Linked DNA regions of Homo sapiens: regions 1, 3, 4 and 5 are each linked to region 2. Evidence: promoter capture Hi-C in 16 types of primary human blood cells and fetal thymus (Javierre and others, 2016). All regions are on one chromosome and are shown on one strand. The core of a region is centred on a gene start or on the middle of the fragment in contact, and the rest is flanking DNA. Distances in the headings are between cores, read along the strand shown.

Evidence for each region. The method cuts DNA at HindIII sites, captures the fragments that hold promoters and counts their contacts. A CHiCAGO score of 5 or more calls a contact.
Region 1: a fragment that was not itself captured here is called in contact with the fragment with the promoter of QTMAN-AS1 in region 2 in 1 of 17 cell types (neutrophils); the score reaches 6.3 in neutrophils.
Region 3: a contact is called between a fragment that was not itself captured here and the fragment with the promoter of QTMAN-AS1 in region 2, in 1 of 17 cell types (neutrophils). The highest score is 5.6, in neutrophils.
Region 4: a fragment that was not itself captured here is called in contact with the fragment with the promoter of QTMAN-AS1 in region 2 in 1 of 17 cell types (neutrophils); the score reaches 6.6 in neutrophils.
Region 5: a fragment that was not itself captured here is called in contact with the fragment with the promoter of QTMAN-AS1 in region 2 in 1 of 17 cell types (neutrophils); the score reaches 7.5 in neutrophils.

What each region holds. Positions count from the first base shown.
Region 1 is chr2:145,415,073-145,420,819 of GRCh38, reverse strand. No RefSeq gene overlaps it. Among named protein-coding and RNA genes, the nearest start is that of LINC01966, 540 kb to the right of the region's middle. The HindIII fragment of the contact is 1,648 bases long and covers 1,308-2,955 here.
Region 2 is chr2:143,934,068-143,939,914 of GRCh38, reverse strand. It overlaps QTMAN-AS1 (QTMAN antisense RNA 1), which reads right to left and starts at 2,848. Exons shown (of 3, transcript NR_110237.1): 1 at 2,279-2,848. It overlaps QTMAN (queuosine-tRNA mannosyltransferase), which reads left to right. Exons shown (of 12, transcript NM_001376312.2): 12 at 1-1,847. RefSeq lists a silencer at 2,347-2,546 and an enhancer at 2,741-3,424. The HindIII fragment of the contact is 2,667 bases long and covers 878-3,544 here.
Region 3 is chr2:145,731,144-145,736,293 of GRCh38, reverse strand. No RefSeq gene overlaps it. Among named protein-coding and RNA genes, the nearest start is that of LINC01966, 850 kb to the right of the region's middle. The HindIII fragment of the contact is 1,423 bases long and covers 1,740-3,162 here.
Region 4 is chr2:145,399,258-145,404,782 of GRCh38, reverse strand. No RefSeq gene overlaps it. Among named protein-coding and RNA genes, the nearest start is that of LINC01966, 520 kb to the right of the region's middle. The HindIII fragment of the contact is 3,241 bases long and covers 1,780-5,020 here.
Region 5 is chr2:145,033,158-145,038,293 of GRCh38, reverse strand. The region is part of intron 3 of TEX41 (testis expressed 41); the gene reads right to left. All of the region lies in intron 3 of LOC100505498 (a long non-coding RNA gene), which reads right to left. Among named protein-coding and RNA genes, the nearest start is that of LINC01966, 150 kb to the right of the region's middle. The HindIII fragment of the contact is 1,590 bases long and covers 1,385-2,974 here.

The sequences.
Region 1 (5,747 bases), core at 882-3,381, 1.5 Mb before region 2:
ATTTACATAAGTATTGAGCAGCCAAATGTTAATTACCACGACTATGGGGGAAAATGTCTCCAAGGCATGCCAGAGGTCTTACCACCAGCAGCTCCTCCCATCACAGGCCCAGAGGCCTAGAAGAGAGACATGGTTTCATGGGCTGGGCCCAGGGCCTTGCTGCTTCACAGTCTTGGGACTTGGTGCTCTGTGTCCCAGCTACAGCTAAAAGAGGCCAACATGCAGCTGAAGCCTTTGATTCAGAGGGTTAAAGCCTCAAGCCTTGGTGGCTTACACATGGTTTTGGGCTTGTGGGTACACAGAAGTGAAGAACTGAGGTCTGGGAACCTCCACCTGGATTTCAGAGGATGTGTGGAAATGCCTGGATGTTCAGGCATAAGTTTGCTGCAAGGGTAGAGCCTTCATGGAGAACCTCTGCTAGGGCAGTGTGTAAAGGAAATGTGGGGTTGGAGACACATACAAGTCCCCACTGGGGCACTTCCTAGTGGAGTTGTCAAAAGAAGGCCACCATCCTCCAGACCCCAGAAAGGTAGATCCACCAACAACTTGCACAGTTTTCCTGGAAAAGCTGCAGACAATCAATGCCAGTCCATGAAAGCAACTGGGAGTGGGACCAGACCTTGCAAAGCCACATCAGTGGAGCTTCCTAAGGCTGTGGGAACCCACCTCTTGTATCAGCATGACCTGGATGTGAGACATAGAGTCAAAGGAGATCATTTTGGAACTTTAAGATTTAATGACTGCCCAGCCAGATTTTGAATTGTGTGAGACCTGTAGCCTTTGTTTTGGTTAATTGTTCCCACTTGGAATGGGAACATTTGCCCAATGCCTTCACCCTCATTGTACCTTGGAAGTAACTAACTTGTTTTGATTTTACAGGCTCCTAGGTGGAAGAGACTTCCCTTGTCTCCAATGAGACATTGGACTGTGGACCTTTGAGTTAATGCTGCAATAAGTTAAGACTTTGGGGTAACTGTTGGAAAGGCATGATTGTATTTTGAAATGTGAGGACATGAGATTTGGGATGAGCCGGGGCAGAATAACATGGTGTGGCTCTGTCACCACCCAAAGTTTTATCTTGGATTGTAGTTTTTCTAATTCCCACGTGTCAAAAGGGAGACCAGGTGGAGGTAATTGAATCACGGTGGTGGTTTCCCTCACACTGTTCTCATGACAGTGGGTGAGTTCCCTTGAGATCTGATGCTTTTATAAGTGTTTGGTAGTTCCTCCTGCAATTATTCTGCTTCCTGCCTCCTTGTGAAGAAGGTGCCTTGCTTTCCCTTCACCTTCTGCCATGATTGTAAGCTTTCTGAGGGCTTGCCAGCCGTGCAGAACTGTGAATCAATTAAACCTCTTTCTTTTATAAATTACCCAGTCTTGGGAAGTTCTTTATAGCAGTGTGAAAACAGGCTAATACGCTGGGGGACCTGAGCACCAGTTCATTATGCTCTCATTTTTTCCTGTAAGAAAAATCATGGGCCAAGGGGTCTCTCTTGGCACTCAGCTGTGTAGACTTGCAGGAGTGGCAAAATGGGCAAAGTAAAGCTATTATTTTTATCCTCTTTTGCGTGTTTGCTGGTGGAATTTTTGCTTCAGTGGTGTGCTGAATCTTCTTTGCTAAACCTGCATATTCCTACAAATGTATTCTGGTCCATGGGTCATTGTCAAAATCAGCGCACTTTGGAGATCATGACAGAAAACTCTTATCCACCATCTTGCTGATGTCACTTGTTCCAGGATGCTACATGAGATTATCTTCCTTTTTGCATATTTCTTATTTCATAGGAAAGACTGGAGTAATTATACCAGCCTGTGCTTTTGACCTCTTCTTCTGGGATGTTTGTATTTTTAAACAGATCGAAACAAAATGGGAAGAGTTTAATTAAATAGAATGGTAGGATTCCAGACACTTTTTGATCCTTTCCTTTGAGTGGAAGATGCTCTGTATTCCTGAAACCAAATTACAGAGGCCTGTGGCCTATTATGACCATTGGAAATGAGTGAATTTTTTTAAAATTTTATTTTTATTTTTAATTTACATAATTAGCTTGTTATGTCAATGAATAGCTGCAGACTAGGATGGGTTAGAATTTAGAGAAGGCTTCTTAAACAAATACCTTAAAGTTCAAAATTTCAGACGTTAAAATAATTAAAACAGCATACAATGGCTATGTCTTTATATTTACCAGTGAAACATCTGTTGCTATAGGTTAGTATTTGGAGCAGGAGGAGCAAGTAATTTGCCAAAGTGGCTGTAGCTTTAAAAGAGAAATCACATAACTTCTTTCAAAGATAGGAAATATTAAGGCATCATTGGCACTGTAGAGTGATGCTTTCGGAAGAGATGCCATAATGCCAATATTAGCACACACTTTTATTTTTTAACTGGTACACTGCTTGCTCAGACCATATAAAATATTAGAAAATGATCAAATCCCAGGACATCATTGGCGAACTTTGCTTCAGATTCTGTGGCTAAATTTCTCTATGTTTCATAACATTCGGAAGTGTATAAACCCATAAGGGTATACTATGGGTCTTGGTTTTTTATTTTCTTTAATATACAGTAACTAGAAGCAGAAAAAAAGTTTAAGTGTTTTTTTTCAACAAAAGGCTACTTGAAATGCACTGCTTTGTTCACACATAAACTACTCTTGTAAGAAATATTTGTTCTTTTTTGTTCATAACCTGCCCTTATGACAAGGGTGAAGAAGAAGAATAAGTTGCCTGAGGCATTTACAAACCTTACAAAGACTTTATTAAAAAGAAAACTACCCACGAATTTACTACCAATCCATCTAGATCTTTTACTATGTTGTGTCAGCTCTCATGAGGAACCCATAACTTGAGAAATTTAAACACAAAAAGGCACAAAAGCAACTACAAAATGCAAAGAGCAAACCATTCAAAGATATATTTTTTTCTAATACCTACTTGAGGGAGAAATCAGAAGCTTCTGAAAAATGGAATCTGCCCCTACAAAATTCAATTAATGTTCAGTTAAGCTAAACCACTAAATATTTACAAAATCACTACTTGTGTAACATATATTTTATAATTATAAAGTATATTTATGACATCAGTAAGCCTATCAAACAAAGAAAATAAAGTTAGAGAAATTTAAATGATAAAGGAAAAGGCATAGCACAACTTACAGATTTAAGTAATATTTTATTGCTTAACACTTTAAGGTTCTTTATATCTTTTTTGCAACTAGGTTGCTGCCTCAAAATGGAAGGTGAATGAGACCTGCCATTTGTCATAGGTATTTGCATTAAATTCTCTAGACTGTCCATCCAGAAAAATGTAGTAATACTTTTAAGCTTTCCAGGAAAACAGGGTTTCTTCTGGTTAAATTTTAACCTGTTTTGAAATAACTATTCCATAATAAAATTTGTTTGAAGTGCTGAAAATACCAAAGGCCTGAATTGGGCAGCAAACAGTGGTGGGCATTCTGCAGGTGACTAAAGAACTATTAAGGTCCCCCCACTTTATGAAAAGGAAAATTAAATTGTTTCAGTGACAATAAAGGCATATCAGACAGGAAGAGAACGGATATTAAAGTTCTAGCATTGTTCTTAAATTGATTTGTTTTATTGAATATATTTCTTTGCCACTTTTTCTAATCACTGAACTGAAAATGATAGTTTCTATATACCTGAATGAATTCTAAGGGGTAAATAAATGTACCTTGAAAAATATGTAACATAAGTAGTTACATACAGTTGATAAATCTAATGCAGCGATGCAATTTACATAAGTGCAGCTAATATTAGAAGAATCTTGACATTGCTTCTCCTTAGAAATGTAGAGAGCTGGAAAGAGCATCCCATAAAATCTCACACAAAAAAAATATTAGGGCAAATAGAAAACATGTGCTTTTTTTTCTTAAACACACTGAATTCTTCAGGTTTTAGGGTCACCAACTGGCCCAAAGTCAGAGCCAAGTGCCTGAAGGGAAAGATAAGACATGAGCTGTAGAGTTCAACTGTGATGACTCATGAGTTGGTGGAGGGAAAAGAGGGTCAGGTACTTGAGAGCCTCAAATTTCTATCTTATTTTGAGATTTTCCTTCACACGCCCCACTTCATGCTCATAGAAAATACTGGAAGAGAACTGAGAAAGTCCCTCTCATGGCCGGTAACTGAGGGAGAAAGCTATAGCTATTAAGAAAGGGGCATCAAACTCCACTGAGATCTTTTTCCTTATCTCCTCTATAAGACCATGACTTAATTTGTGGGGGAAGGGCAATGACACTGCCCCCTTTTGAGTACCTATGGAAACTTATTGAAACTTGGAAAAGAAACAAGAACAAAACCTTGTATCTCTGAGGAGGGAGCAAGAACATATGCCAGGGTCAGAATATAGATTTCGGGGAAAGAAGGAATACTGAAAAGGCAACATTTATGGAACTCAAAGACAATGATTGTGTAAGATGTCTAACACTGAGGCTTAATTGGAATAACAGTGAATACTCCCCCACAGTCCACTACCAAGCTGGTATGTATCATGTCACAAGTAACCTGAAAGACTGAGACCCTCTCTGACATTTAGAGAAAAAAGATAATAAAGTTGTTGGTAGAGTAAAAACTGAAAAAAAAAAAAGCATTCTGACACACCAGCCTCCATCATGAATGCAACATATTGCTAGAAAAGAGGATGTTGAAGCTTTTGCTGTCCTGAGGTAACCACAACAACTATAAAATTCGTACTCAGCTCCACTTTCAATTAGATTAACTCAACTCACTCTCTCACCCAAGGCCTAACAGAATGAACATGTACATAAAACCTACTACCTCAGTCTCTACTATCCTATATAAAATGTCTATCTTTAAACGAAGTATAACATATAAAAAGTCCAGTGGTGATTGGGCAAGCTTCTAAGAGACAAAGCCATCATTATAACTAGACTCGGATATGATATAGATGTTAAATTATCAGACATATAATTTAAAGTAACTCTGATTAATGTGTTCACAATCTAATGGGAAAGTCTGACAATGTGCAATATGTAATGGGTAATTTCAGCAGAGCAATCGAAACTAAAAAGAGAATCAAATTATCATGCCAGAAATTATAAACACAGTAACAAAGATGAATACTTTTGAGGAACTCATCAATAGATGTGGCATGGTTGTGAAAATAATAAGCAAACCAGAAAATAATTGCATAGAAATTACAGATGGAAAAACAAAGAGAAGTATAATGGAAAAACACACACACAAAAACATACAGAACAGAGCCTTTAAGAGTTATGATACCATACCAAGTTGTCGAGTCACATGTCCAAGAAGCTCAGAGATACCAAGAAGAATACAAAAAGAGTTTTTAAAAGTCTAGCCATGTCAAATTCAACATGCTGAAAAAAAAAATACAAAGAAAACATCTTGATGGCAGCCAGAGAAAAAAGGGACATTACATCCTGAAGGATGAAGGTAAGAATCCCACAGACTGCTCTTCTGGAGTCATGAAAGCCAGAAGACAATGGAATGACTTACTTTCAAATGCTAAAAGAAGAGTCCACACAACCAAAATATTCACAAAAGCATAATTTTGGCTTTCAGTTAAGTCTGATTGGCTACACATGTTTACCACTTCTCCTTCCTGCAAATTAAATAAAATAATGCAAAGGAATAAAAAGAACATAAATACACTACAACAGACAGGCTAAGAAAAGGTTCATTAGAGAAACAAAGACATTTGGCAATGTATTAGAAAATGAAAAGTTAGTGGAGAAACGATAAGTG
Region 2 (5,847 bases), core at 1,599-4,098:
AAAGTATGTGGACAAATGTGGGGGGTAGAAAAGGAAATGAAGGTTAAGCAAGGCCAATATAATTCAGAATAAAAGGGAGGGAGGGAAGTATAAGGAGCCAGCTGTAATTACTGAATGTTACATTAAGAAGAGCTGAAATTGAGAGGGGGAGGTCTTGAGTATTTTACTAAGTGGATTAATGTCCTCTTCCTCGGGTGTCTGAAGTTGCAGATTTTAATTTATTTGGTGCAGGGATTTATTACAGAATTCTTAATGGGTGGGGAGATAAACAGGGACAATTATAAGCTCTTAAGAAGAAGAAAAGAGGACCATATAATACTTTCTATAAATTTAACTGTAATAAACAGGGTTTCAAGCTATGGACAAAGATAGTCAAAAAAAGCATTTATTCCATGATATAGGACTAAAAGGGAAATAAGAGGTGTGTCCAAAAAACTTAAAGACCAAAACAAAGAAAGAAAAACCCACATAGATGTGTGATGCCAGGATTTTGAATGACTTGGGAGCTAGTTATTGCCGCTCTCCTTTCTCCACCCATTTAAAAAAATAAATCATAACTCTGGCATTTAAAAACCTACTCATGAACATCATTTATTAATATAAACTTAATCCTGTGCTATTCTTTGGTGGGTGGTAAGAACATGAATTAACAACAACTGGACTAAAACGATGGCAACAGGATGATCCACTCAAACACAGGAAAGCTGTAAGAAAAAGAAAAACTCCTAATCTGCTCTTTCACCTTACTTATTTTACAGAAGGAGAAAGCCAAAAAGGGGAGAGCATGTGGCTAAACCACAGAAAGACTAGATGCCTAAAGGAAAAATTTTAAAGTGTTCCTAAATAGGTATTAGAAGGGGAAGGGGGATGTAAAGCTTATGTGATTTACATCATTTTGTTAATCTGCTAATCTACTTCCCTGGAAGGTGAGAAAGAGTGTTGTCTGCCTTCTGCAATTGAAGAGACTAGGGCAGAAACTTAATTATGTTCTTACCCTGTGTATACCTGGCTGTCATCTGGCTGGCAACTAGTCCACAAACTATTGGTTCAGGCATTTGCCTGGCAATAATGTTAGCCATCATTTAAATTGTTAAATATGGATCAGAAGATCTCTAAGAATTACTGATATGCAGCTATTAATACTGGATGTAAATAATATTATTTGGGGTGTGGGTAAATCATTTGACTGGAACCACATTTAAAAAAAGGACTTGGAAATTTTATTTTTGAAATGCTGTTGGGGAGATGGCATTGATGAAAAAAAAAATTGAAAATGGAAAAAAACATCATCTACAAAGAGATGGGTAAAAATGACTAAGCAAAGAAGCCTTGTCACCTTCGACCTGATGCTTCATTGTATCAGAAGAAAGTAAACAGATTGCTAACAAAGAGACCACCCCTTCTAATTTCCAAAACCGGCCCAGCAACAAGAGGGAGAAAATAGAGAAGAGTGCACTGCGTGGTGGCTCAGGGTGATCCTTTAATTTGAGTGTTAAAAATGAGGGCACAGACCTAGAGGTTTTTAATGGTCCGCGGGTGGACTTCAGATTCTGAACACTCCTCCACCTTCTGTGGAGAATTCGGGACACGGTGGAGTTTAACCAGTATCTTAAATCCCAGGGACAGGGTGGAGATTGCTTTGTGATCCTGATTAATTAAAAGGAAAGAAATCAAAGCAGACATCTCTCCTTTTTCCATTTGAGCCGCAGAGCCATGGAGGGGAACTTGTGCTCTCTGGTGCTTGCAGCTATGTTCCCTGGCTTTCATCGTCTTGGCTTTTCCCCTTGTATTTCTAATGCTGTGATACCAGGCCAATAAAATGGAATCTACAAAACTGCAAAACAAAATTGTGTGTATGTGTGTGTGTATTAGAATTTTACTGAAGATAATTGCAACACTTTAAGCACAAAATTTTTAACTTAAAATGTATGAGTAATGAAGTTTTAAGAAGCAAAATGTGCTCAAGCGGAGTATTTGTAGTCCCTTTTTTGTAAGAGGTTCCCCAGACCTCTGGGTGCATCAGCAAACTGTCCTACACGATGGAGCGTGCAGCTGCAATTTGGCCCCGGGCACCACCTATCCAGAGTTACTACCTAATGCATTTTACATTTGCACACATTGTCAAGGGGTGGGGGGCAGCTAAGAAGGGGCCTCCCCCCCACCCCCCAGCGTTCTGTTTCCTTTTGTCGCGGCCGTCAGCTGACACGTGGAAAATGTGGTGTACGGTTTTGTTTGCCTTTTATCTGTAATTAAGGATCCCTTGTCTGGGGCTTGCTACCTCTTTTCTTTCTGCCTCCCTGCCGCTCGGGTCTTCCGCCCTCGGTCAGGTCTGGCCTGGCGCACCGCAGCCTGGGGACTCCGGGTCGCCGGGCGGAGAAGCAGGCAGTGGGCGCAGGGACCTCCGCGGAGCCCGGCGCTCGCCTGCCGAGAGAGCGCACGCCCCGGCACGCCGGCCCCGGCTCGCCCGAGCCCCCGACCAGCTAGTGCCTTGCGTCGGGGCAGCTGCGCCCGCGTTGCCCAGAGCGGGTCGCCTTGCCGCGCGTCCGTTCCCTCCACACCGCTGCGCCTGAGCGGCCAGCGAGCCCGAGCTCCGGTCTGCGGCGGCGCCCGCCCTCGACGCCTAGCTCAGTCTCGTCCAGAGCGGTGGGGGGAGTTTTCTGCACCTTTCAGGCGCGGGAACATGTCGAGGGACGGGGGAGGACGTTGAGGTCACGAAGTCATCACCCACTCCTCTCGGCTGCGTGGGCGCTGCGGGAGCGCAGAGCCGGAGCACGAGGGGCTCGTCCCAGGGCGCGGGCCCCGCCAGCCCCTGGCGCTCCCACCCGCGCGCACTCCCTCGCACACCCGCGCTGGCACGCGCACCCTGGCGCGCGAACTCCCTGCCACGCGCGCGCTGTCACGCACACACACCGGCACGCACCCGCCACGCTCGCGCCGACACTCCCAGGCTGGCACACGCACACGCGGTGGGGACCCACCCCTGCCCGGGTTTGGCTGCGCCGGGCTCGCGTGCTCTCTCTCGGGCACCCCCGGGAAGGGAGCGCAGCTCGGTGGGCCGGCACCCTGTGCTTTATGCGTCTGAGGATTTCATTGAACTCGGTTCCCTGAGTCGGCCAGGCTCAGTCCTCAGCGAGGGAATACGATGAAGACGCACTAAGCAAAACCAGAAACACCGATGCCTACTACCTTTTCAAAAAACATAACTTGCCCTCAGCAATCCCGCGAAGGGGAGTGGGGATGGGCACGGGGACTCTCCGAAAGGGATTTTATCTACACAGTTTAGAATAACTCCTGTCTCTGGTATGTTCGGATATGTGATTTAAATCTCACCCCCCGGACGCTTTCTTTTTCACTTCACACCTGTATATTGAAATACAAACCTCATTTCTCCTCCTCACCACCAACTGGTTATTTAGGAGGAGTGGAGAAGAGGAGTTAAGCAATATTGGGGCAGGAGAATATTTAGAAGCATTACATTGATTTGTCACTCATTTGCTCTGATTAGCTTTTTGAAAACTTGTGAAGATATTCCTATTTTGAAGCTTGTATTTTGTTAAAAGCCTCCCTCACACTGCCGTGATTTATCATTATTTATCTGAGTATACACACGTATGTATAGGAGAAAAGGAATGCTGATCCTTCCTGATTTCAGCAGTGCCGTTTTCCTTTCTATCCATGTGGTTTTAGCATAATTTTCTCCCTCTTTCTCACCAATAGAGATATTATAGTACGCAAAAGCAGGGCACACCTGTGACCAAATACAAGCAACATTAGCCTGGAGTGTTTGCGAATACTCCTTGTCATCTGTCGCTCAAGATTTCCCCCCTCAGATTTGAAATATTCCCCAAACTGGTTTAAAGGTGTGAGCGGGTGGGTTAACACGTGAGAGCAGTCCAAAAGTAAAGCGAGGTTGGGAGAGGGTGGCCTACATAAACCAACTCTTGGAAGGCTGAACAAGAACGCATGGGAAGTGCATTAAGAAGAGACTGTAAACAATGATAATCAGGGCTTTCAAAAATCATAAAACGGATTGAAATATCTGATTCATTATTTATTCATCACAGCGCAACTTTGCGAATCTGAGAATAGTGTTTGGAAACCAAGTGCCTTCTATTTAGTACATCAAATCAGCAGATGGGTCTCCCTTCCAAACTGCGGCTAAAGGGTTAAAGCTATAATTTTAGAAAAGAATCTTAGGAAATGACACTCAGATCTAATATATTTCCTTTTCTTTCTGGCAATAATATCCCCCAAAGAATAAATATATACTTATTGATATCATGATAATGTTTCTCATTCTGAGTACAAGTGTCAGACTGATTCCCGTTTGTGTAAGTGTTTTTAAAACTGCGAGGACACTTTCGCTACTCTGAAAGCTGACGAGCCAATGAAGGGGAGCTTCTTTTAACTCCATAATAGCAGGTTACATAGTAAATGAACACTGATGGTCAAATAGCCAATTATGGTATAAATATCCGTTGTTTACAGAGAGGTGTTAAATGAGCCTTGGAGTACAAGGGATTAGGCCGATCTATGCTACAATTTGTTCTTCAACCCATTATGTCTTCCCTTTAAAAGGCCAGTGCCATTGTAGGTAGTACGCACACAGAACATACTTCTCTATGTTGATTTTAGTTTGCTTTATTTCGATGCACACTGTTGTTTACTTTTTAAAATTTAAATAAATGTCAGCATTGTATAATTTCTATGTTAACAAAGCAGTGAGCAAAATCCCTTGTATGTTTATAAAATATTATTGTTTAATTCACATAGTTTAGAAATTCCAAATGTTGAGAATAGGAAGGAGGCCAAATACCATCTGTTTATAACTATGATGCATCGTAATATGTGTACTTTTAAAAGGAGTTTGGTCAATCATGCCACTATTTTATCTGCTCGGAATATGTTGGAGATTTAAAATGTAATTTACAGGATTACTTTTAGTGCGTTGCATCCAACTGTGAGTTGTAAAGAAATCGGTCTCTTCTGTTTTTCTCAAATTAATCATGTAACAGCCCCAATTAATGGGGGCTGTTAAACGTGTCGCTTTTTGCTTAGCTCCAGAATTCTTCTAACTTTGGCTCAGTCCACCTTCTTGATGCTGATAAAAACTCCAAGGACAAATGAAACAAAACACTCCTAGCTGTGTCTTTCTGCCAGGAGATAGTCACTAAGAATGGCAGGCAGGATATGGTAGCTAATAATTAGCTAACATCAGCCCTGAGAAATTACCTGTGAAATACCCTTTGGTACTGAATTGAAAAACATCTGACACTCCCTGTTTTAAAATAGTATTTTCTTGTCCCCGAGACTTCTGATTTAACTTACCTTTTATTTCAAAGGCATCTAATTGCATACCATGTAACAAAGGGAGTATACTTACTTGCAATAGATGAGCAGGTTTTTGTTTTTGTTTTTAGTTACAAACTCAAGTTATTCAGTTAGGAACTCTCCCTTGCTTTGCAAATCAGGGAATCTCAGCAACTGGGCCTTCAATTCCAGGCAGCCATAGTTTTAAATCCAGAGGTGGTTTTAGAGTGTCACACCATGGGGTCTCTTTTTCAAGAAGGAGGAAGTGAAGATGAGCTCAGATGTCTTGAAAAAGGTTTGAAAGCTGTGATAAAAACATTTATTAGCAAATGATGGTTGCTTGATTGATTTTTTAACAAGGTAGAATCAGTAAAAAGCTACATCTTGAAATGCTTTTATAAACACATGCAGAAATATGAAAACAAACTCCCAATAAACTGGGCATGTTCTGGATGTTTTACTTCTCAGTTGAGTGTTCAATGAAAAAATGGTGCTGTATAAAGTGGTTTCTCTGTACTATTTAGCAATATCTGTTTT
Region 3 (5,150 bases), core at 1,202-3,701, 1.8 Mb before region 2:
AAAATAACAATAGACACCTTTTAGAAAATAAGTATTAAAACTTCGGCACTTTGTATTTTTCTCTATTTCTTTTACTTTTTGATATTGATTGATTTTACCTTCTCATTAGCCAAACCCAGTCTATTTCTTACAATGAAACTTTAAGATAGGTGCTATTATCCTTATTTTACAGGTGTGAAAGATAACACTCAGAAAAGTGAAGTAAGCTTAAGTTCATAGAGTTAAAAGCCAGTGTAATCAGGATCCATACCTAATGTTATCTCATTCCAAATCCTGTGTGCATTATCCCAAGTCCTGTGCTTCCCACTATAGCATAGACAGTATGTAAGATGTACTGTAAGTGATATATTACATATGCATTGTGAAATGAAAATAATTATCTTACAACTCCAAACTCACTATGCCAAAGAGAATAGTCAAGCTTGGGAAACGAATAAAGTAAAACTGCCTCCCGTTTTGTTCCTAAATAGATAGCTACAAAGATAAAAGGCTACATACTTCCCCAAGGGGCCTCCCTTACAATTTGTTCAAAAAATAATTTCTTGTGGTTCCCAAGATTCCCTGAAACAGTCCTGTTGACTTTTACCCTGACAATATACATTAACAACTTATCTTCACAGGTATGGGACAAGGACAGGACTAGGAGTCATTACTCCATTCAACTGAGACAAATGCATGTTCGACTGCTTCCTCCACTCTATGTTTACTTTATCTTATGTAAAACTACAAATTCACTGAGCATAATTGACTATTCCTCGACCCCCTCCTTTCATTTGTAATATGTGGCTTCAGTGAAGGCTGATCAAAACCTTAAAAGAATGCAACAACTTGCTCCTTTTATCTACCCTCCCCATATTTTTTCTTTCCTCTTTCCCCTACTGCCCCCCTTTTTTCTCTTTAAATATTGAAGTCCTTAAATCCTCTTTGGAAAAAGCAGGAATCACAGATGTTTCTGTGATTTTTTGTTACGTTTTCCTTGGTGCATCTTCAACCTTGGTAAAATGAACCTCTAAAATGATTGAGACTCACCTCAGTAATTTTCTTTGATTTACAATATATAGAAAAGCAAGATTTCACATGTAAAATCTTTCCAGCATTATAACATGGATAGATTGAGGATTAAATGTGACAAGGTGCTTATTAAAATGTAAACCAAAATATTGTCATTCATATATGTATATATATGAATATATATACAATCATAGAATTTGTAATCCTTACAAGTCCATCATATAATATATGCTAGTTTAGTGTATAGGGTAATTAATCATATAAACTACATGCTATATATATGCTTTTATTAACTGCTTATGTGATCTTTACGCCACTGAGACGCCTAGAGGTCAAAGTTACTTATAATTTTATTGGCTTACTTTTCTTTTAATATAAATATGTATGAATAACAGCATTCACAAAAGAGTTATATTTCTATTATAATAAAATATTTCCAAACTACCAAATATTTATTAAGGTTATACCAGATAGCATACTTACTCTACTTTCTTGGTCAACAAATTTATTATGATTTTACCATTTAAGTTATGTTACTTGAAACATAACCAGGCCATTTGTGCTGTGTGCAAAAATTGACCAAAAAGTTAAAGTCACTAAGTATCATTTACATTATTTTGACACTCCATATGATGTTCCTTGTTGGGTGAAGTAGTGAGAAATACTAATATATTTCTATTGCTATAGATCCATTTTCTTCTCCAAGGAGAATATTCATGGTTCAAGCTTACCAAGTTGAGTGAATTCCATTTTCTTAAACAATTGCTCACAATTATACCATATATTTCACCTGGTGTTTGGATAATGATTTTACTTCTTTCTTACATAGATCTTTCCCTAAAATTTTTATTTTCCCCCACAGTGGGGTGACCTTTTAATTTAACTTGTGTCTTTAACTTTGTGGTTCCAGCTTCTCAATTATTCTAGCTTTTGCATATTCTCCGCTTATGTGAAAAGTTTCCTATGAATTTTTCAGTTTTCCTATTTCAATCTGGACTTTTTTTTTCCTCTAGGACTACCACACGCGTGACATGCTGGAAGTCTACTCTTTCCTACATTATATATTTTCCAATCTCTTCATATGCTTCCTTGTTTAATTTAGTATAGCTCAACAAACTGTTTAAATTACCTGAAAGGAAAAGATTCAATTTTCACGTATCTAAAAGTGTTCTGTCCTCTCACAAAAATCTGATAGATTTGCTGGGTACTGAATAAAATATTCAAATTAATTTCCCTTTAAAATTTTGTAGAGTTTGCATCACAATCTCCTAGAATCCAAAGCTGTAATTGAAAAACTGGTAATTTTTTAAATTTATTTTTTGGAAGTTAAAGTTTTCTTTCTTTAGTAAGTGAATATGTCTAAGTATGAATCTTTTCTTTCATTCATTTTGGTGGGCATGCCGTGGGCCTCTCTAAACTGAAGATGTGTTCTTTAGCTTGTGAAAAGACCTCTTTCTGTTCTACAATTATGCCTCTTATGGTGTTATTTTTGGTCTAAGTATATGATTTTTTTAAAAAAACTATTTTGATATCTCATAACGTGATTTTTAAAGCTCTTTTCTGTTTCCTAGTTATGAATTATTTTTTTCAAAGATCAGTTTTTCTATTTATTTTTCTTTGTATTCTCCTCCATTTTGTTGTATCTTTTGTGTGTATCTGGAGATTCTTGACAGTCCATTTATATTTAAGATTTATGAAATGTGAGTTTCCTCTGCTATTTTGCAAGCAGATAAATTCCATAATAGTCATCACCCATGTGAGAGAAATATGGCTGGAAGTAACAATAGAGTCTCAGGTTTTGTTTGGAGTTGGATGAGGAAGGAGCTGGCTTTCAGCCTGGAACACTTATATTCCAATTTGCAGAAGGCTTTGTCCTGGGGAAGCAGCACCTACACTAAAGCTCTCCAAGTTATTTGAAACTACCCAAATAATAAATTTATTTATATATTTACTCATTTATAATTTGCCTATGGGATGAAGCCAACCTGCTTCCTTCTTTGCATAGAGATAGCAGAGTAGGAAGACACTAATTTTTCCCTATATAGATTTTAAGCTAATCTTCTTCTCAGCTCCACTTTTCACTTCTGTTCTTCATCAGATCTACAAACTTTTATTTAAAGTCCTCCTGGAATTCTGACAGAAATGTAAGCTTATCAAAGTATGTTCTGGGTTGTAACTTCTTCTGACCTACCCACTTTAACTTGTCCAAGAATAAATTGAAAACCCTCATCTACTCATGAATACCTCTTACCTATTCTCTTTACTCTTACGGGTTATCACATTTTTGTATTTTAGGCCTTGCCTTTCATTGGATCTGAAGGATGAGAAGCAAACATATCTGTTCAGTCATCTTGAAGTGGGACATGCCTTTTTATAATGTCAAATGATACATTTACACTATTTTCAAAATTGTAGATGGTATCTCCTGAATTACCAAGCATGTAAAATGAGGAAATTAGCATACCTATGCTTTGCTCCAGTTTTTTCCCTCCCTACTTTATCCCAACTACTCTCATCATTCCATAATGTTTAAATCACAAAATTGATAACTCTTGCATCTTTTTAAGCCAGTAACGTCTTCTGTGCTTGTTAAATATAATGATTCTGAAAATTGAAAACTGGAAAGCAGTGTTTATGAATTGTCCTATACAGAACATTATATTCAAGGAATTTTTAAAATAAAAAAGGTTTAAACTTATAACTATGACAATGAGGATAATAAATTAGTTCTCATATTCCCCAAATAGTATTCATTTCTTTAATAAAAATTAAAAGCTGAGGTTATTAGGAAGTTAATTCATGTTATAAGTTCTGCATTGCTATTGGTCAAGTAATATTCCAAATACCCAAACACAATGACCTTTTTCCTTTCTTTTATTTTCTTTTATTTTTTAACAGAGTCTCACTCTGTCACCCAGACTGGAGTGCAGTGGCGTGATGCAGGCTCACTGCAACCTCCATCTCCCGGGTTCAAGTGATTCTCCTGCCTCAGCCTCCCTTGTAGCTGAGATTACAGGTCTGCACCACCACACCCAGCTAATATTTTTGTATTTTTAGTGCAGATGGAGTTTCACCATGTTGCCTGAGCTGGTCTCAAACTCCTGACCTCAAATGATCCGCCTCTGCCTCCCAAAGTGCTGGGATTACAGGTATGAGCCACTGCACCTGGCCACAATGACCTCTTTTCTGATGACTTTCTGTTCAAATATCCTGCATGTACTTCCTCCACAGCTTCAAAAGCCCTGCCTTCTTATTATTATTATTACAGAATCTTCCTGATCGCTCTCTCATAGCCTCATTTCTCTTCCCCAACACACATTTTTATGTACTATTGGCTTAAATTCCATGCTCAAAAGTCACATGTGTGTATGTGTTTTTCTCTTTCCATGGTTTGACATCTATGTGGTTTAGCAAAAATTACACTTACCAGCTGGAAGACAATCTTTCTTAAGTTTGTGATTTGTACTTCCCATTGCCTATTGAACATTTTTGCATAGATGTGCCATGGACATGTGAACAGAATTCATTGGCAATTACATTTCCGCCTCCACACTGACAATGCTTCTTCCTTGGGGGTTTTCTGTTTCAATTATTACGTCATCTTTTATAAAGTCTTCTAGGCCAAAAACGTAATTTTTCTTCCTACCCCCTTTTATAGTTGCTTAGTTTTCTGTAGTGTTTCTTCCATCTATCTCTTTCTGTCTGTCTACTTTATGGAGACCTAAATTCATCATCTTTTGCCTGTCTAACCACAATGATCTCCAAACTAGTTTTTCTCTCTAGTTACTGTCCGTCCCAATGCATACTTTGCAATATCATCTTTCTAAGGCCAAGAAGATATTAACTCTTTGCTCCAAAACATTCAAGTATCCCCAAAAGTCTTCAAAAATTAGAGGCAGGGTTCCTCTGTATTGCCCAGGCTTGTCTTGAACTTCTGGGCTCCAGCAATCCACTTTCCTCGGCCTTCCAAAGTGCTGGGATTATAGGCGTGAGCCACCACACCATGCTGCGTGATTCTTAAGCACACTAATACTGAAAGCAACTGTCTTTCTTGCATTTTTCCACTTGCAATAAAGCAGAACTCTCCTGTCTCTTCTCACTTGTTTAATTTTCATAATAATGTTAATGATGAGTAATAT
Region 4 (5,525 bases), core at 2,151-4,650, 1.5 Mb before region 2:
ACTACATTTTCTCTTTTTAAATCTCCAAGAGTCTGTCAGAAATGCCTCATGTCTGTCTTTATCTCAGAATTTTATTTAAAGAATAGTCAGTGTAATTTTGTTTGTATTCTCTAGTTTCTTCTGGTTGACAGTTTTTAAATAAATCCCTCCATATCTTGATTGTTTTGGGAACCACAAAGTATAGAACTATTTTTTTTAACCTACTTTATTAACAGATGAAGATTTTGTTTTTGTAGTCTGAAAAGAAATCCTCAAAGGTGTCAAAAATTAACTAGGTCATTAACCAAATTCCACATCATTTTGCTTAATTTTTTGTAAAATTATATAAGTCATGTCATAATTTTCTGAAGGTGCTCACATTCCTGATTGGATTATTAATTTGTGTTTATTATAGGGGCTGTGGTATAATGTTCTATCTTAATTAGTATTTTTATGCTTATGATTTTAAATATGTATATAGTCAGTTTTTATGTTGTTTGCCTTTCTAACATAACTAAGGTTAAGTGTTTTCTTGCAACAAAGGGAATTTATATTGGAATTAAAAGTAATTACAGTAGCTTTATCAAAAGCAAAGCAATTGGCAGTTGTGTGAATAGACATCTTTACAGTAATAAAATGCAGACTGAACAACCTCTGAGTTTATGTTTCTGATGATGTTTCTTTTACAGGAATAATAATGGTAAGTTTTATGTATAGAATATATTTGCAAACAGAAAAAACATCTTTCCTTAATTCTTCATGGTATCTTTCTATTTTTCAGAAAAGTTAACCAGCTTTCATACTCCTAGTATATCTAGAAAGTAGGCCTGAATTATATAAGCAGATTGTAAAATAATGGATTTAATTTTTCTTTTTTATTTACTACTTTCACAATAAATTGAGCAGCTTTAAAACTATGCACACATCTTACAGGTATTAACTACCCTCCTTTTACTAAATACTACATTTGCTAGAATTGCAAAGATTAATAACAAACAGTCATGGTCCACCAGGAGTTCAAATTCTAGTGGATGGGTTGTGTTGAGGTTCAATGATTAAGACTATCAACAGAACTGAACAAATGTTCAAATTTTCACTTATTTCAGTTGTCAAGAAGTAGCTACTGCAGCAACTACAGCCTCAGAGATGTTTCAAAGAACTGATGAACAGTTCATATAGATGGTGTAATATTCACCAAAAAAATTTGTAATCTATATTTAATTATTTAAATACCAAAGAAAATAGCTTATTGCATGAACAGCATTTTTTAAAAAGTAAGAAAGAGAATGCTTGTCTTCTGGCCCTGACTGTGTATAAAGTATTAGGAATCTGAGATACAGGTTAGAAAATGGGACCTGGATCCCACACTCTGGTCAAAGTTTAGCAATGCCTGTACTCTGTGTAAGTGCAAAACTTTACATTCAGAACAACCCTCATCAAATGAGGCTTTGAATTACTGACAGAGGAAGGACACCTAAAATCTACTGTGTAATATCTTTTAATTTGCTCTGATGGCCTTAATTTTTACATCAGAAAAGAAATGGGAAGGTCATTCATTTATTTATTAAAAAATATTTGTTGAATATGTGCCAGGTATTAGGCCATGCACTGAGGATACAACTCAAAACAAGAGTAACACACTGTCTGTTCTCACAGAGCTTACAGTCTAGTGGGATCTACTGAGGATAAGGTAGGAAATTGCAAGATGATGTCATCAGTACTATCTGGAGTGGCAAGCCATGTGTTAGAAGATCACATATGATGGATGTACAACCTGGACTTTAGAGTTTAAGAAAAGCTTCCTGGAAGAAGTGAAGTTTAATCTGAGGCCAAAGAGGTAACCAGGATTGCTCTGGTGGGTGAGTAAGGGGAACACGATTGTTAGCGTTAGTCATATTATGTGATTCATGTCATATAATGAAAAATTGTGTAAAGGTTCATTAACATGGCTGGGACAAACACAGCTTGAATGCTGGGAAGAGAGCACTGATGACCTAGAGGATGAAGCAGGAGAGATAAGCAGGTCCTTGAAAGGAAGAGTCACTGAGAAAAGTTTTCCTAATGGAGACAATTACATGATCATATTTTGATTTTAGAAATACAATGTAACAATGTAGAAACAACTTGCAAGCTATGATATTAATTTAAACGGGTAATTCCTCACTAAACTGGGGATGGAAAGAAATTTAGGGATTTAAGAAACAGTTCAAATGTATAACTCATAAGACTAGTCATTGGTCAGGTGTGTAGGATGAGGGAAGAGAGAAGAGTCAAAATGATGCCTGGGTTTCTGTAGTGATTGAGAGAATGGTCTTACCATTTACTTGAGAAAAAAGGAAAATAAGTATATTTAGTGTTCAAGATGATATATTTTCTTCTGGCAAGTTTTTTGGGGGTAAATCTGTTAGTAGTATGTAGGCATATTGATATATATACCTAGATCTCATGAAAAACATCTCAGCTGGCAGTACGAATTTTGAAATTATGTGATCACATGAGGTCATCCAGTAAAAATATGTGAAATAGGTCTTCCTGCCTCTATATAACTGGTAATGATACCAAGTTTAATGAGCAAGGAAAGGTATAAGATGCAGCAAAGAGGGCTTCAAGGAGCACCCAGAAAGCTAGGAAAAGAATTTGGAGAATAAATAACAGTGGCCAAAGGAACAGAACATTTCAGAAGAGTAGTGGGCAACAAAATCAAGGGTTGCTGAGAAATCAAGTTGAATAAGGGGTAAAGGTTATCTGGAGGATGCATTAATAAGGGAATATGTAGCCACCACACTGTGATCAATTTTAGCCATGGGGAAGGTAAGAGCTAGAGTGGGTACAAAGGAAATAAAATGGGAAGCAATGGAAGCAGTGCATCTAAGAGTGCTTTGGTGATGTTTGGGTTGTTAGGAGATCTATGAATCAAGGCTGCAGGATAATGGGGGAATAAAGTGTCTTTGGATTTTATTTTAATATGGGAAATGTTTGACCATAGTTAAGTGCTACTTGGAAGAACACAGAAAAGGAGAAGGAGCTAAAGATGAAGGAAAGAGGGGAGGGAAGCCGCTAGAATAATTGGCAGGGTGTGGGAGGAGTTTCCATCTGGTGGCTTCTATTTTTGCTCTGAACTGGTAGTCAAGTTGATCTGCTGAAAGAGGGATTAGGTTTCTCAGTCAAAGGATTGAGAAGAGGAGAGTAGGCTTAAAACATTTGTGGAAAATAAGAGAGCGTGGATAAGGAAATCCTTGATTTCTAAGCAGCATGTACGACCATCTGAACTTGGAAACTGTGGAATTATAGTTGTGATCAGCAACATGAGGTAGATAGGGTGCAGTCAGACAGATGAGTTGATTCATGGTAAACATTTTTTCCAGAGGGGTCAGGAAAAGATGAATGAGACTTGAAGATAGGACTATTTGTAAGAATTGAAGTAATGGAATATGCCACTTTACGCTAGATAGGTAAGCAAATATTCTGGTTTTATATATCGCTGTGTAATATACTACCCCAATAGTTAGCAGCTTAAAACAACATGTTCACAAATCTGGAGTTTGAAAGAGTTCATCAGTTTCACAGATCATCACCTGGAGAATCTATTGGAACTGAAGAATCCACTTGTAAGATAGCTCACTTACAAGGTAGTGCTGAGAAGTCAGTGCTGGCTGCTACCTGGGAGCTTTGCTGGAGCTGACAAGAAGCAGCCCAATTTTCCTCCATATGGGTCCCTCAAGGAGCTGCTTTGTGCTTTCTCAGAGCATGCTGGCTGGCTCCGGAAACACCTATCTCAAGAGGCAGGAGGTGAAAGTGGATGGGCTCTTAAGGCCTGAGCCCAGATAGTGACATGGTATCATTTTTGCTTTATTCTTTTGGTCAAGCAGTCACTGAACCTGCCATGATTCAAATAGAGAGGATGTGGAATCCTCTGGTTGGGAGGAGTGACAAAGAAATGTGCTGCCATCTTTAACCCACCTCAGTGAGGAAAGGCAGAAGGGACTGAGAAGAGACTTCATGAAGCAAAAGGATTAACAGCTGTAGTGTGTAACATGGATTTTCTGCCCAGATCCCCTTGGTTACGACACATTTGTATCCTTTTTTGTGCTCTGAAGGTCACCTTGGGAGAAAGAACACTCCATGAATGCACATGGAATTCAGAAGGATGAGAAGGTTTTACTCAAGAGAAGTAGAGAGTTTTCTTGGAGGAGTACCAGATTTCTGATATGAGAGAACATGGGAGACTGTTGCATAGGGAGACTGAGGTTGGAGCTGTGCTTGTTGATTCTTAAATGGGGAGTCTGGCAGACATAAAGTAAAGTTTTAGGAGAAGGAATAGGATGATGTTGTGTGGCTGGAGAGCAGAAAGCTGGGGGATAGATGGTAAATATCCAAGTCGATAGCTGAATGAAAGGTAATGTGTTTGAACTGGCCACTTAGTTGCCTGTAAAGAAGCCCCTGATGGATGTGAGTGAGGCAAGGCACTTGGATTTCTTCTTCAGAGTCTACCAGAGCCTAGAAGGAGTATATCTATCTAAATAAATTGTCTAGACTTCCAGAGGGTGTCAGCTGACATCCATTGCTGATATCCAATGACATCCATATATTCATGCACACGTGAGTGCATGTATGTGTGTGCACATGCGTGCATGCGCATGAGTGCCCGTATACACATTCAAACTGCTGTGAAGGGGCTGGCTGAGAGGCCCAGAGTGTGGTAGGAGGTCTTGACTCTGAGATCTTAGCAACACCCTGTCCAGTACAGGTCCTGCTGACCACAGTGGCCACTAATCCTAAGAACCCCCTTGTCAATGGTCCTGGGAAGAGATATCTAAAATATGTGTAGTGCAGGGATAAAGATTTCAAGAGAAAATGCAAGACATATGATTTCAACATCCCCTTCAGTTAGAAAGAACAATGAATTAATCTCTTATTGATAACTGAATTCAGGGAATTTTAGACCTCTGCCCTTAACTCCAAGTAGAATACTCGTTTATTCTACACTTCGAGTAAGTAATCTGCCCTCCCCAGGATTCTGGAGTATCCAAACCAAGAAGCTTGTATTTGCCTTCCCTTCACTTGCTTTGTCCCCTGCTGTCTCACACACTGCCACTAACAGATGCCTTAGGTTATTCCTCTTATGGGAAGGTTGATAACTTTAAGATGGAAGTGCTTTCTCAACCCAGCAGTTCAAGAAGAGGTATGACTACCTTTTAGGTTATGGGATTTTTTAGTAGCACACAGACATAGGTAGTTTTAGGGGATCAACTTCTAGCTATTCAAATTCCATCTAAAGTTTCTTCCAGAAAATCAAATTGCCTGAGAATGACCCTCTTCAAAATAGTCCCTTTACCCATTTTACAGAGGAAATAATCATCTCTCATCTATCCCAAATTTTAAGATGGTGCATTTTCCAGATATATAAAAATCTTCTAGTACCAGTCAAAGGGAAAATCAAAACACTGGGTGTGAGGCACCTTCCTTTACAGATTAATCAAGACTTTCTGCCTTTCCTTGTCTTACACATATTTCCACTAAAAATGAAGATTGGCATTAAAAAAAAG
Region 5 (5,136 bases), core at 930-3,429, 1.1 Mb before region 2:
CTCAGAGATGCAAGAGGGGGCCTGGAAAGGAAGAGAAAAAGAAAAAACCACCAGTCCTGAACCGTTTTGCCAGGCAGGATCCAGAAGCAGCCCGTGTGGACTAGTGGGTGAAGACCAGGACACCAGACATCTCAGAGGTTCCCATTCAGGCTGTGACCTTGACACTTGATGTCCTTGCCTGAAGCCTTGGCTCTGCGTGAGACCCGGTGCTTTGACATATCCTGTTTTGGGTGACTGTTGCCCCACTTTCCCTCTCCCTTACACATCCTTCTTCCCACCCATCAAGGACTAACCAAAGAGAAGGACGCAGGGTCTTGTTCTTTTCTCAGGGACCCACCCATTCTAAATTTTCAATGTTTATTTTCCAACTTTCTGTACACCTCCCCAGGCTGAGAAGGTTTTAACTAATGGCAATAAGGCAGCTTGGCTCTGAATGTATTGGGTAGTTTTTCAAATGTTTTGTCTATGCCCTGAGTTTTTCTACTTCCCCAGAAAAATAGGCTTTCGAAACTCAAAAGCTAAGACTTTACCAATTTTTACTTAGCATTTTACCACGTTATTACTTTCCTGAATTTTAGGGGAAGAACTAAGGGTATAAGGATATAAAAGGTAATGTATCAGCTAACATTTCAAAACCGTAACCCACTACATAATTATTTATGTGTAGTCGTAATAAGCCTTGAAAGAAAATACAGAATTCACGAAGAGTAGAAATTAGGATGAAGCAAATACAGTATATGAATGAATTATAAGGAAGGACATAGGGAATAAGAGAGAAAATAGGGAAGAAGGTATGTATTTGTGTTCAAATATGTGTGTGGGGGGCGCTTAAAAAAATCTAACATTCAGTAAATAATAGAAATCATAATATCCTGAAGTTATCTGAGACAGATCTTAGTACTTAAAGAAAGGCATGAAAAATGCCATAAAAGTGCTCTGTTGTAACATCAGAATTGATTTGTATTTATTTTTAAGCACTGAAATTTTAAGATGCATATTAGCTATTCATATCACCATACAAAGACAACATTTTAATTACAATTAGCAAAACTGCTAAATCCTAGAAAAGACACCATCGCTTCTAAAATCCTCTGAACACTCTCACAAAGAAAATACCCTTCTCTGTCCCAGTTCCAACCTCTCCCACGGTCCTTACTCCAAAGCTCAGTTAGTGTCTTGGTCACAGAATAGACGAAGAGGTTTTATGTAGATAAATGAAATCAATAATATTTCACTCATTTTACAAGTTCATAAGTTATACATGCAACAGAAACAGAATGCCCAAGAAGGAAACACCAAATAGTCCTGCTCGATTTGTGTAAATAGATGACATTTTAGAAGGCAAAATCTTGACTATTTTCAGCTGACAAATTCTTTGGAAGCTTCTTAAAAAAATAAGCTGGCAATGCTCACATATTTCAACCTTAAAATGAAAGGAATCTCTGAACTTTCCTTCTTTAGCAATAAACTCCCTTAACCCCTTCCCCTCCACACCATAACAGCAACAACAAAAGAGTATCGGCTAAGATTCTTTGTATGTGTGCACACACCCCTCTTTGCCTAGAGCCAAGTTGAAATTGAAACCCGGAATCTGAATATACCCTTCAGATCTCATTAATCAAGTTTAATACTTGCATTTTTCTCTTTAGTTTAGATCACATTTTCTCTTGATAAAAATGGGTAGTTGTGGTTTAGAAAATGGGAAAACTGGACCAACTATGAACTAGAGCAAAGTTGAAGACAACTCTAAATATTCTGAGTATGTTCCGTGATTCCATGAGCTTTCCTGACAACTGGTCATTCTAGCTTCACCGCATCCTGTGGTATAATGTCACATACCCAAAGACCATGATGCAACATGGCACGACTTCAGGAGTAGGAGTTTCCATTTAAAAACAATAAATAAATTGTTTTTCCAAGTAAGTCCAATTATTTTACTGGGTATTGGCTCTGAAAAAGAGTTGTGAGTTTATTAAAGATATTTAGGGTGCTGGTTCTGTGAAACTTAGCTGCATGTGGCTATTGGATCGCTTATCCATTTTCTCTGCCATGTAAGAAGAAAACATCTCAAAATATAACTATTAGTTGGCTTTGTGGTGTTGGGTTAGTGTGCCAGTCTGAGGTTAGAACAGAGATGGGATCCCAAGCCCTGGGCTTTGTATTATATAGTATTGTATTTTTGATGTTGTACTTAAGGGTCAATTACTGTTTCCATTATAAACCCTGTTTTTCAAGGGTTTATAGCTCACCAATTTTCATTTTGGTATGCAAGCTGCATGAATATACAGGTTTTAAAAATAGCTTAAATTGGGCAGTGCCATTTTTAGATATAAGTCAGTAAAATACACTTTTCATTGGTTTCAGTTTGTTTTCAATGTTTCCAATCTAAAAATTTATTCTTAAAGTGCAAAAATGCACACCTTATCATGCTTTTTCATAACAGCTTTGCATAGGGGAGCTGATAAAGGGAGTAAAAAATATATCAAATGAAACTTCAAAAAAGAAAACAAAAATAACTTCTGTGAAAATTTGTAGGTAAATGTCACTTTAGTCAATGTTCTCAAAAATCAATAAACTAATCAATCAGTATTTCCTAAGCATGGGCACTATTTTGTGCTCAATACTGTGGTCAGTACTGTGAGGAATAGCTCCTGTCCTCAATGTGCTTGAAATCCTAGTTCTTGGGATCCTTATGAGAAACAAAATTATGTAGCTGGAGCTCTGGACTTCTTTAATTCTTCTTAAGTAGCCAACGCTAGTAGGTTCTAACTATGAAGACACCAACATTAAGCATAACAGCACTGTACATTAAGGCATTAAAGTGGTAAATCATTAGCCAAGACCTTAAGAGGCAAAGGCAAAGGCACTTAAAGAGTTCTGCAACTTATTGGTGTCCTACAAAAAGAGCAAAGGATTCCAGTGTATAGACAAATGCCCAGATACAGAAATGTATCCATCTATGGTCCTGCAAGCTTTAAAACTCCTACCCTGACCATCAGAATTAAAAAATCCCTACCTAAGAGTGAATTGTTTTCCCTACCATTCTGAATTTTCCAAAACATAAAACAAATTAAGTTTTGTTTTACTGCAAACTAAAATTCTTAAAAGAGTTGTCTACCTTATTTCTACTCTCTCACTCAACTCTCACACCTCAACTTATTCTTCCCTGGTTTCTAGCACTACTGGTTTCCAGCACTCTACTCGTACTGCACTTACCTAAGTTACCGATAATCCTCTTGTTGCTACTGCCAATGAATAAGTATTTGCTTTTATCTCTTACCCAAATTTATCTGTATTTACCAGATTGCCACAGTTTTCTATCTTTTGTCTCATAAAGACCTTTGTCATTTTGTTGTTGTTGTTCAACTCAACCTCTACCCTCCCCCTCCTATTGTCATTTCTACTTACCTTTTGGGGAATGCTCCATTGGTATGGAGTTTTGGTGGGTGACAGTTGCTTCTCATTTATGGAAACTGAAGGGACAAAACCTTCTCTTTTCCCTAGAACAAGGTGCAGTGCTGTAAGCAAGGCTCAGTTAATCAGATACTTTCTCCTAGGGCTTGAAGCTTGATCAAGTCCAGATGTAGGGATAGTTAGAGACCATTTTCATTTACTGGCAGTGACAACCCTCTCCCAATTCCTTCTGCATTGCATTTATTGTCTTTTATGCTATCCAGTTCTCCAGAGCTTGGTTTATTCATACCCATTTTCCAAACCTAGTTCTCCATATCCTCATTATTTCTGTTATCTCCGGATATTCTTCAGTAAAGTTATATTTGTATAAGATACTCAGCCACTGTTTCTTATAAAAACATTGATTGATATAATTTATTTCTGGCTCTTGTTTTCTGTAGTGTTTATAGGTTCATTTTCCTCTGTTTCTTAAGTTACTTTTAAGTTTCCTCTGTCTATTCCTTATCTACTAATAAGTTGCAACTCCCCCAGATACTTTTTAATGTCCCTTCTCATTTCACTCCACATTATCTACCTGTGCTTATTGCAGCTACTCCCTTGACCTCAATCTCATCCATATGCTAACGACTTCCAAATCTATAAAGTCATTCTAAGTCTCTCCTCTGATCTTCAGATTTTTTATTGATGCTATTTTTAATTAATTTATTATATAAATATTTATTGAATTTTAACTATTCATCAGATATATAGTAGGAGATATGGTTTGGCTGTGTCCCCACTGAAATATCATCTTGAATTGTACACAGAATTCCCATGTGTTGTGGGAGGGACCTGGTGGGAGATAATTTGAATCATGGGGCCAGTGTCCCCCATACTGTTCTCGTGGTAGTGAATAAGCCTCACGAGATCTGATGGTTTTATCAGGGGTTTCCGCTTTTGCATCTTTCTCATTTTCTCTTGCTGCCGCCATGTAAGAAGTGCCTTTTGCCTCCTGCCATGGTTCTGAGGCCTCCCCAGCCATATGGAACTGTAAGTCCAAGTAAACCTCTTTTCCTTCCCAGTCTTATGTATGTCTTTATAGCAGCATGGACTAATACAGTAGGATACACATACAGATACACACACACACACACACACACACACACACAGATAAGAATAAGAAGCAAAGTGATAAGGTTTTCCATTTTATGGAAGTTAGTCAAGTGGATTCCATAATTTTGTGAACTCCATAATGTCATGAGTCATCAATCTGATGGATTTCATATTCTAGTGGACTCCACAGATGCCATGCAATACTCAACATGAGATATCAACTTGGATATCTCAAAAGTACTGAATTCATTTCCTATCTCCCACACCTGCACCAATATATTCCTCCTACTGGACTCCCTATTTCAATGAAAGTATTCAATTGCTACGTCAGCAACCTACTGAAAACACTAAGTATTGCTCTTCACCCTGTCCTCACATCTGTACCAATCATTAAAGCCTGTTTATTCACCTTTCTCAATATATTTAGAATTTTTCCACTTTCCATGATCAGTTCAACTGCTTCCCTAAGTAGGCCTCCAACCCCTTTTTCTAGGGTCAGCACAACAGTCTGTTAACTAGTCTTGGCTTCTATGTCTAAATTGAAGCCAAAGTGAATTTGATAAAATGCAAGCTTATTTGTGATTATCTTTTCATTAAAACCCTTCGAGGACTCCATAATTATCTCAAAAA